2 separate regions of the Homo sapiens genome follow, and region 1 is linked to region 2. The links are contacts of gene promoters, found by promoter capture Hi-C in blood cells and fetal thymus (Javierre and others, 2016). All regions are on one chromosome and are shown on one strand. Each heading gives the region's core, a stretch centred on a gene start or on the middle of the fragment in contact. The rest is flanking DNA. Distances are from core to core; before and after follow the strand shown.

Region 1 (4,674 bases), core at 1,850-4,349, 52 kb before region 2:
TAATAAATAAAATAGCTAAAATTATTGAAAATTGGCACCACGTGTTTATAAAATTCTATATCCTAAAAATACAATAAAACACTCATTTTCCTCTATCTGTGCTTTTATATATTATCAGTTATTTTAATTGTTAACCAGTCAGTAGAAAAAATTTTGTACTGTGATTCAATATCAGTATATTTCATTACTAGATAGAGTAAAAACCTTTGTATGTAATTGTTGGTTGTTCACATCTTTTCCTTTTGTAAATTGCATATATTATAGAGATTATCTTTTTTTAACTTTTATGCTCGGGGGTACAAATGCAGGTTTGCTGCATAGGTAGATTTGTGTCATGAGGATTTGTAGTACAGTTATTTTATCACCCAGATATTAAGCCTAGTACCCATTAGTTATTCTTCCTGGTCCTCTTTCTTCTCCCACCTTCTACCCTCCAAAAGGTCCCAGTGTGTGTTGTTCCCTTTTTTAAAATAGCTGATACATAATAATTAACTTTTTACAATCCAGGATTTTATTTTAGTCTTGTGTAACTGACTTTTGCAATGGAGGAAAGAGTTAATATTTTTATAAAATAAAGTCAATCAATAACTTAGAGTGATTGGATTTTACATTTTCAGTAGGCAGGTCACTCCTAGAATTTTAGCAATGTTAATATTTATTTTCTTATGTTTAGATATTTATTACCCCTGAAAATCATGGTTGTTACTGGAAGAAAAAAATATTTTTTCACACACACACACAAAAATACATAAACACAAACACTTTCTCAAAATGCTGGACAGTTCTTACATTATGTACCAAAATGTCCATCTTTTTTCCCCCTGGAATTTCTGTATTAATTAATTTTCTGTCCTATGATAGTGCCGTAGTTTTAAATCTCTCATCTCATTTCACTGTTTCAGTTTTTAATTCATTCCTAATATGTATATAGTAAAGTGCACTAATCCTACATATACAACTTAATGGATTTTTATATATGTATACACTCATATAACCATTAGCTAGATCAAAATACAAAACATTTCCTCCACCCAGAAGATTCCACTGTGCCCTTTCTTATCCAATACTCTCCTGCCCAGAGGTACCACTATTCTCACTTTTATTACTGATTAGTTTGTTCTTTTTTTGAACTTCCCATAACTAAATAAATAACAACATATGATGAGTATATTTTGTACCGATATGCATGTTGTTTCATTTTTGATACATAATTTTTTATTGATTTTTAAATCTGGTGTTCCAAACTGCCATAATGAAAGCATTGATACCCATTTGCACAATAAGTTAATAATTATGAAATACTATACAAAATATAGCAACCTCCGTCATTCTAGAGCACTAACTTGTATTGAGAATCAGAACTGTGTACAGGACTAAACACAAATTTTCAATCCTGCACAATCTCACCAAGAATCTTTCAGCTTTACCTTTCTAAAAGTTGATTTAATTTGGCATGACTGCAATAGAAATTAAAATGTTTAACCTTTAAATTTGTTAATCCATTAAATGGGATAATTTATGCAAATAATGAGCAGAGCCCCAACCTATATCTTAGTAAAAATGGAATCACTTCCCTCTTATTTTCATTTTTCACCAGAGGAATGATCACCAACTTCTCTGCCCAGTCACTGGTTGGGCAAGTTGGGTTGGAACTGCTAATGGATTGACTTTTTCACTCCAGGGAGGAAGGAATAGACAGCAATACAGTATTTTCACTTCCGTTTGCTTTCAGAAAGCCTGCACTTGGGGGCTGGGAGATACTTCACTAGTCTCATATTGATCTATAAAGTGTGATCCCTACGTTGATCGTTGGTAGTTCTGCTACATTTAAGAGTAGCAAATGAATTAATATGTACTATTATCTGTTTATATTTTATTCTGATTGCTTTATCATAATTAATGACTAATCATTAATAATATTTAATAAGTGGATGGAATAAACATGATAAATTATCACAGGGAGTTTCATAGAAAGTCAGCTCTCATAATTAAGACCTATCACCAGAATGCATTTGGGCCAGAAATGTGGTTTGCAAGATGTTATTCTATCCAAGTCACCACTTTAAAAAATAGTAACAGGAATTCTGCTAGAAGATGATCAGAGTTAGAAAAACTCAAAAGAGTCACTTAGATCTCTAAATGAGGTGATCTTTGCTGTGGAAACACAGGATTATCAGGCATACCAACCAGCTTCATATAGAGGATTCTTATCTATAAGAGTGAGTGAAAAGAGGTCAGAGTACTCAATGCAGGGCTGGAGTTGTATCAGTACAGAAGCACATGTTTAAATGTAGACTATTAGGAGAGAGAAAATTGCAGTAGAAAATAGCTTGGTGGGTAATAGTGCTACTGGTTTTGCCAATTACCTAGGTCAAACATTGAATTTTTCTAAAATGAAACTTGCATTAGATCAATATAGAGAACAGTATTCTTGAAACTGAACTTGAAATTACTTTTATACAAACATTTTTGGAAAAACATCAGTCATGAGTTGCCTGTTTTGTCACATCACTGACTAAAATAGCCACAGGTAGCAATTTCACTCTCTCTTTCTATTTCTCCCTTTCTCTCTCTCTCTCTCTTTCACACACACACACACACACACACACACACACAAATACACAAATGATAAAGAGAAATGAATATATATGATAAGCAATACATATTGTGAAAGTGATTATATTTATTAAAATGCAAATTTATAAGTTTTCCTGCATGGAAATTGTTAATATTATAACAGACATAAACACATAAAACTAACAAAATATCAAAGGATTTTCCCACTAACTGGTAGGAAATTCCACTAATCCAATGCAAATATGACCTGTGGTAATCAATAATTAGAGTTAGTTAAAATTGGAGAGACAATAACGAATCCATAAATAACCCTGTTGATGCAATTAGTGCATCACAAGAAAATGGCTCAAAGTGATCAGCAATCAGAATTTCTTTCTAGGAGCCAATAGGAATCTTCCATAGGAGCACGGAAAGTTGCAGGCATATCCAGAGTTACCATATTCAGAGCCATAGCTGCAACCATAGTCCAGGCTACCATAATAGTTGTGGTAGTAGCACATGGTGTCAGAAGATGGAGTTCAATTGAGGCAGATAGTAGTTTCTGAAATTTGACTCTCCTGATTTGTACAAATTATTTTATCCAACCTGAGTTATATGTGAAGGAAACCACAATCTACATTGGACTCATTCTCACAACTAATTTGCATTAAGATTAAAAAAACCCTCAAGAATCTCTTAGCCATATGTCCAGGAAAATATTAATATTGCTATGTGTCAGGATGCCAACAAGTAAAATCATGAGCCTTAAGGAGATATTCTCTTAATTTTGTGGCTTTTGCTTACTTAAAATCCCAATTTAAACTTGATGATTAGCTTCTCTGTGATCACATTAAGCTTATATTTCCTGCCTCTTGAAACATTTCTTTTTTCTTTTTCAATATCCTCCTCTACCTCCATAAATGCAGTCCTTAAACCACAGAGTGGCCAGGAATGGTTAGGGAAGGTTGGCTATGCAGTGAGGAAGCCGATGAAAATGTCTTTATTTACTTGCAAATATGCCTGTATGTTTTGACTAATTTATTTCTTAATCAATGGGACTAAAAATTTTCTTCCAAGTTCATATGTAGCTTATGTTCTTGGAGTAGTAAAGTTTTTTCTCTTCCATCATCCTCACTTTGGTTATATTATTAGTTGTGGTGTTCTCTTTGCATCTGAGAAAGCAATTAGAAACAATTACCCACCGTATCTCAAAATTCATGTTTTCCTCTCCTGACACATAATATTCACATATTTTACCTTCTTTTTATATTTAATGAATTTGCTTATTTTAAAATATATTAATTCCAAATTTCCAAAAGTATTGTAAAAATACTTTTCATCTTCTAGCAGAATTCCTGTTACTATTTTTTAAAGTGGTGACTTGGATAGAATAACATCAGCAAACCACATTTCTGGCCCAAATGCATTCTGGTGATAGCCTTAATTATGAGAGCTGACTTTCTATGAAGCTCCCTGTGATAATTTGTCACGTTTATTCCATCCACTTATTAAATATTATTAATGAATTATTAGTCATTTATTATGATAAAGCAATTAGAATAAAATATAAACAAATAATAGTACATATTAATTCATTTGCTACTCTTAAATGTAGCAGAACTACCAATGATCAACCTAGGGATCATACTTTGTAGATCAATGTGAGACTGGCAAAGTATCATATCAATAAGAGGCAAGTAGAACATTTAGTCAGAATTTCGGAACTGCACACAGTAGTTCATAAACTTTAGTGGATATATACCACCACCTTAACAATCGGAAAAGGCATGGATTCTCAAACCAGAAAAAAATCACCATGATAAATTCCTCCACTGGTTTGCATATGATCCAAAAGGATCCCAGAGTACATGAATTTATCCCCAGTTACCCCAAGCATAGAACAAAGATTGTGATTATTCTACACAGAATTTGAGTATAGAAAGTTGCATCATGTCATTCATTTGGTTATTTTTTCACTAATTCATCAAATCTTTATTAAGAATCTGCTGTATCAGGCACCGTTATAAGAAATGCAGATTGAGCAGATGAACAAAATAGACAAAGTCTCTACTTTCTGCAGGTTACAATGAGACAGAAGGGATAGAGAGACTGATTTTA
Region 2 (4,822 bases), core at 1,845-4,344:
AATTGATGTGAGATGGTATCTCATTGTGGTTTTGATTTGCATTTCTCTGATGGCCAGTGATGATGAGCATTTTTTCATGTGTCTGTTGGCTGCATAAATGTCTTCTTTTGAGAAGTGTCTGTTCATATCCTTTGCCCACTTGTTGATGGGGTTGTTGGTTTTTTCTTGTAAATTTGTTTGAGCTCTTTGTAGATTCTGGATATTAGCCCTTTGTCAGATGAGTAGATTGCAAAAATTTTCTCCCATTCTATAAGTTGCCTGTTCACTCTGATGGTAGTTTCTTTTGCTGTGCAGAAGCTCTTTAGTTTAATTAGATCCTATTTGTCAATTTTGGCTTTTGTTGCCATTGCTTTTGGTGTTTTAGACATGAAGTCCTTGCCCATGCCTACGTCCTGAATGGTATTGCCTAGGTTTTCTTCTAGGGTTTTTATGGTTTTAGGTCTAACATTTAAGTCTTTAATCCATCTTGAATTAATTTTTGTATAAGGTGTAAGGAAGGGATCCAGTTTCAGCTTTCTACATATGGCTAGCCAGTTTTCCTAGCACCATTTATTAAATGGGGAATCCTTTCCCCATTTCTTGTTTTTGTCAGGTTTGTCAAAGATCAGATAGTTATAGATATGCGGCATCATTTCTGAGGGCTCTGTTCTGTTCCATTGGTCTGTATCTCTGTTTGGGTACCAGTACCATGCTGTTTTGGTTACTGTAGCCTTGTAGTATAGTTTGAAGTCAGGTAGCATGATGCCTCCAGCTTTGTTCTTTTGGCTTAGGATTGACTTGGCAATGTGGGCTCTTTTTTGGTTCCATATGAACTTTAAAGTAGCTTTTTCCAATTCTGTGAAGAAAGTCATTGGTAGCTTGATGGGGATGGCATTGAATCTATAAATTACCTTGGGCAGTATGGCCATTTTCACAATATTGATTCTTCCTACCCATGAGCATGGAATGTCCTTCCATTTGTTTGTATCCTCTTTTTTCACTGAGCAGTGGTTTGTAGTTCTCCTTGAAGACGTCCTTCACATCCCTTGTCAGTTGGATTCCTAGGTATTTTATTCTCTTTGAAGCAATTGTGAATGGGAGTTCACTCATGATTTGGCTCTCTGTCTTTTATTGGTGTATAAGAATGCTTGTGATTTTTGCACATTGATTTTGTATCCTGAGATTTTGCTGAAGTTGCCTATCAGCTTAAAGTATCTCAAAATAATAAGAGCTAGCTATGACAAACCCACAGCCAATATCATACTGAATGGGCAAAAACTGGAAGCATTCCCTTTGAAAACTGGCACAAGAGAGGGATGCCCTCTCTCACCACTCCTATTTAACATAGTGTTGGAAGTTCTGGCCAAGGCAATCAGGCAGGAAAAGGAAATAAAGGGTATTCAGTTAGGAAAAGAGGAAGTCAAATGTTCCCTGTTTGCAGATGACGTGATTGTATATCTAGAAAACCCCATCATCTCAGCCCAAATTTTCTAGCCCTCTTATTCAGAAAGTTGAGCATACACACCAGCTCTCTGTCATCAAGTGAAGGTGGGGAACATAAGGTTGGGCTTAAGGGAGTTGTGAAAGCACAAACAACTTACAGAAGCAATTGGCTTGGATTCTCATGGTTTCCTCTCTGCTGAGTTGTCTCTTCTTTCTCAACATACACCTATGAATTTATGCTGATTTTCCAGTTGGAGAAGGAAAAATTAGTCCTGGATTATAGATGGTTCTGCCAATATGGTAGCACTGCCTAAAAGTGGATGACTGAAGTACAACAGATCAAATCGGGGATTACCCTAAAGGTCAGTGGTGAAGGAAAATTTTCAATTATTTTTAATCATCTTAAGAAATGATAGTATCTAGATTCAGCCTGCCTTTGAGAACTTAAGTCTACATATAAGTACATGATACAGACAGAGTCAATATCCCTACAGAAAAATTAATAGTCATGCCTTCTGTTATATTTGGGTCTCAAAAATGTCTACTTTACGTTCCTGTGACTTTGGAATCAGATAAGATTCTCAATGCTTTTCTTTTCTCCGAAGAAACATATCTACATTGCAGTGCAGGTACAAGATAATCAACCAAACAACTTTTTAAAGAATGCTTAAGGTGTGGAGAAGAAGGAACTAAACAGGCAAGAAAAGGGCACTACTTTTAAGAGAGCATAGCAATAGGAAAACTACAGAATAATATGTGATTGGTGGGAGTTTGTACAGAATAAATCACAGTTGATCCTTGAACAATGCAGGGATTAGGAGTGCCAACCTCCACGCAGTTGAAAATCTGAGTATAACTTTTGACTCCCCAAAAACTTAACTACTAATAGCCTACTGTTGACCAGAAGCCTTACCAATAACATAAACAGTTGATTAATACATGCTTATGTTACCTGTAATGAGAGATTATACTCCTATAATAAAGTAGGCTAAAGAAAAGAAAATTTTATTAAGAAAATAAAGAAAAAGAGAAAATGGATTTACTATTCACTAAGTGGAAGTGGATCATCATAAAGGTCTTCAGCCTTATTGTCTTCATGTTGAGTAGGTTGAGGAGGAGAAGGAGGAGGAGGGGTTGGTCTTGCTGCCGGAGTGGCAGAGGTGAAGAAAATCTGCTTAATATAAGCGTATCTGTGCAGTTCAAACTCATGGTATTCAAGAGTCCACTGTATTTGCTACTAAGTTTTATAGCGATAACATCACAGCTGTGTTGATTAAGATTTAAATATGCATATAAGAAGAAGGGTATTATTAGCAAAGTGATCGGAAGAGGATGGCATTTGCCTCCTCCACGTGATGTCATCCAACATAGCTACAAAGGTTAAATTCGGCATCAGTGTGAGTAAGGTCATGGAACTCAGTATTTTTTTTTCCTTTAAAGTCTATCAGCTGTTTGGCAGGATCATAACATACTGAGAAGAAAATCTCAATTTTATCAGGATAGGGAGTCTTTTTTTAAAATCTAAAGATACAAGATTAATGAGATTTTTAAATACAGGTTGGTCTATATGACAATGTCAGGAGTGCCTGTGGTTTGTCACACCTCCACTGAGACTGATAAAAGACCCAGTATTTTAGTGTTTTTATGCACTAAAACTTATGCTGGCCTCTCAGGCTAGAGACTTAAATCCTGACACAATGAGCTACTATGGCAACTACTACGGAGGACTGGGCTATGGCTATGACTGTAAATATAGTTATACCTCTGGCTTTGGTGCCTTTAGAATCCTGGACTGTGGCTACAGATGTGGCTGTGGTGGGGTATGGATTTGACTGCTGCCACCAATATGATTATGCTACATGCTTATTATCAGGCACTGACTGAATAATATCTACAATTGGGTCCATTTTCTTATGAGACAGGGGTGCTGTTCTACTACACTTTTTTTAATTTGTTTAACCCAATTAGAATTCTTAATGATTCCCTATAATCCCAGCACTTTAGGAGGCCGAGGCGGGTGGATCACCTGGGGTTAGGAGTTCGAGACCAGCCTGGCCAACATGGCAAAATCCCATCTCTACTAAAAGTTAAAAAAATAGCCAGGTGTGGTGGTGGGTGCCTGTAGCCCCAGCTACTGGGGAGGCTGAGGCAGGAGGATCACTTGAACCCAAAGGCAGAGGTTGCAGTCAGCCGAGATGGCACCACTGCACTCCAGCCTGAGCAACAAAATGAGATTCCATCTCAAAAAAACAAAAATAATGCTTAGTTATTCAATCTAATTCTAGGCAAAGAACACACATCATTAAATTCACACTAAATCCACATCAGTGCCCCAGATTAACTACATTTTTCTCTTCCAAACTGATGTGTTTTCATAATTTACCAAGCAAATTACTTTTTGATATGTTTCAGGAGTAGGGAGCTCTAGGTTTATTTTTAATTAAACTTACTTTGGCCAGGCCAATGTCATTCATTTTTTAAATTTATTAATTACTCACTTGTTTAATAAGTCCTCATTAAGTAATTTCTATATAGGGCTTCCTGTTAAGTCTTAGTGTTACTTATGGGAGAAGAGTTTTTAAGCAGAAAAACAAATGTTTAAATAAACATGTATGCTACAACATGATAGGTGATGTAATAGCCACGTAGGAACACAGAGGAGAAGCTCATGTTTGGATGCAAAAGAGCGAGATTGTAGAGCAAACAGATCAAAAATATTCTCATTGAAGGTTACATTTGAATAAATTTTTAACCAACGAAAAATACATTGGAGGTAAAGTGTATGCCAGGCAGGGGAAACAAATATGCAAAGCCATGAAAAAAGTATTGCACTGCAAAGTCATAAATTGATGTTATTTCTTGAGAGAACAGTGGGCAAAGTCACTGGCAGGAAATGAAGCCCTGGGCAGTGAAGAGAAACTAGAACATCAAGGCCATATATATTTTGCAATGGGTGTACTGGATAATGTTTTATAAAGTTGTAATATTTTCCTTTACCTGGATGAGATTGGAAACTATTATTCTAAGTGAAGTAACTCAGGAATGGAAAACCAAACATCGTATGTTCTCACTGATATGTGGGAGCTAAACTATGAGGATGCAAAAGTATAAGAATGATACAATGGACTTTGGGAATGTGGGGGGAAGGGTGAGAAGGAGGTGAGGGATAAAAGACTACAAATATGGTGCAGTGTATACTGCTTGGGTGACAGGTGCACCAAAATCTCACAAATCACCACTAAAGAACCTACTCATGTAATCAAATACCAACTGTACCCCAATAACTCATGGAAAAATAAAATAAAAATAAGAAGCGCATGTTTTATACAAATAATTATGGCATCCAATTGAAGGAAAGGTGGCCAAGGAGTATGACCACAGACCAAACGACCATTCTGGA

Evidence for each region. Contacts are between HindIII fragments. The CHiCAGO score rates a contact against its expected background, and 5 or more counts as called.
Region 1: a contact is called between the fragment with the promoter of KRTAP22-2 here and the fragment with the promoter of KRTAP20-3 in region 2, in 6 of 17 cell types (neutrophils, total B cells, naive B cells and 3 more). The highest score is 11.4, in neutrophils.

The regions. Positions count from the first base shown.
Region 1 is chr21:30,587,298-30,591,971 of GRCh38, forward strand. KRTAP22-2 (keratin associated protein 22-2) reads right to left here and starts at 3,100. Exons shown (of 1, transcript NM_001164434.1): 1 at 2,808-3,100. The coding sequence starts at 3,077. The coding sequence ends at 2,940. The HindIII fragment of the contact is 4,540 bases long and covers 1-3,409 here.
Region 2 is chr21:30,639,770-30,644,591 of GRCh38, forward strand. KRTAP20-3 (keratin associated protein 20-3) reads left to right here and starts at 3,095. Exons shown (of 1, transcript NM_001128077.1): 1 at 3,095-3,367. The coding sequence starts at 3,120. The coding sequence ends at 3,254. The HindIII fragment of the contact is 10,269 bases long and covers 1-4,822 here.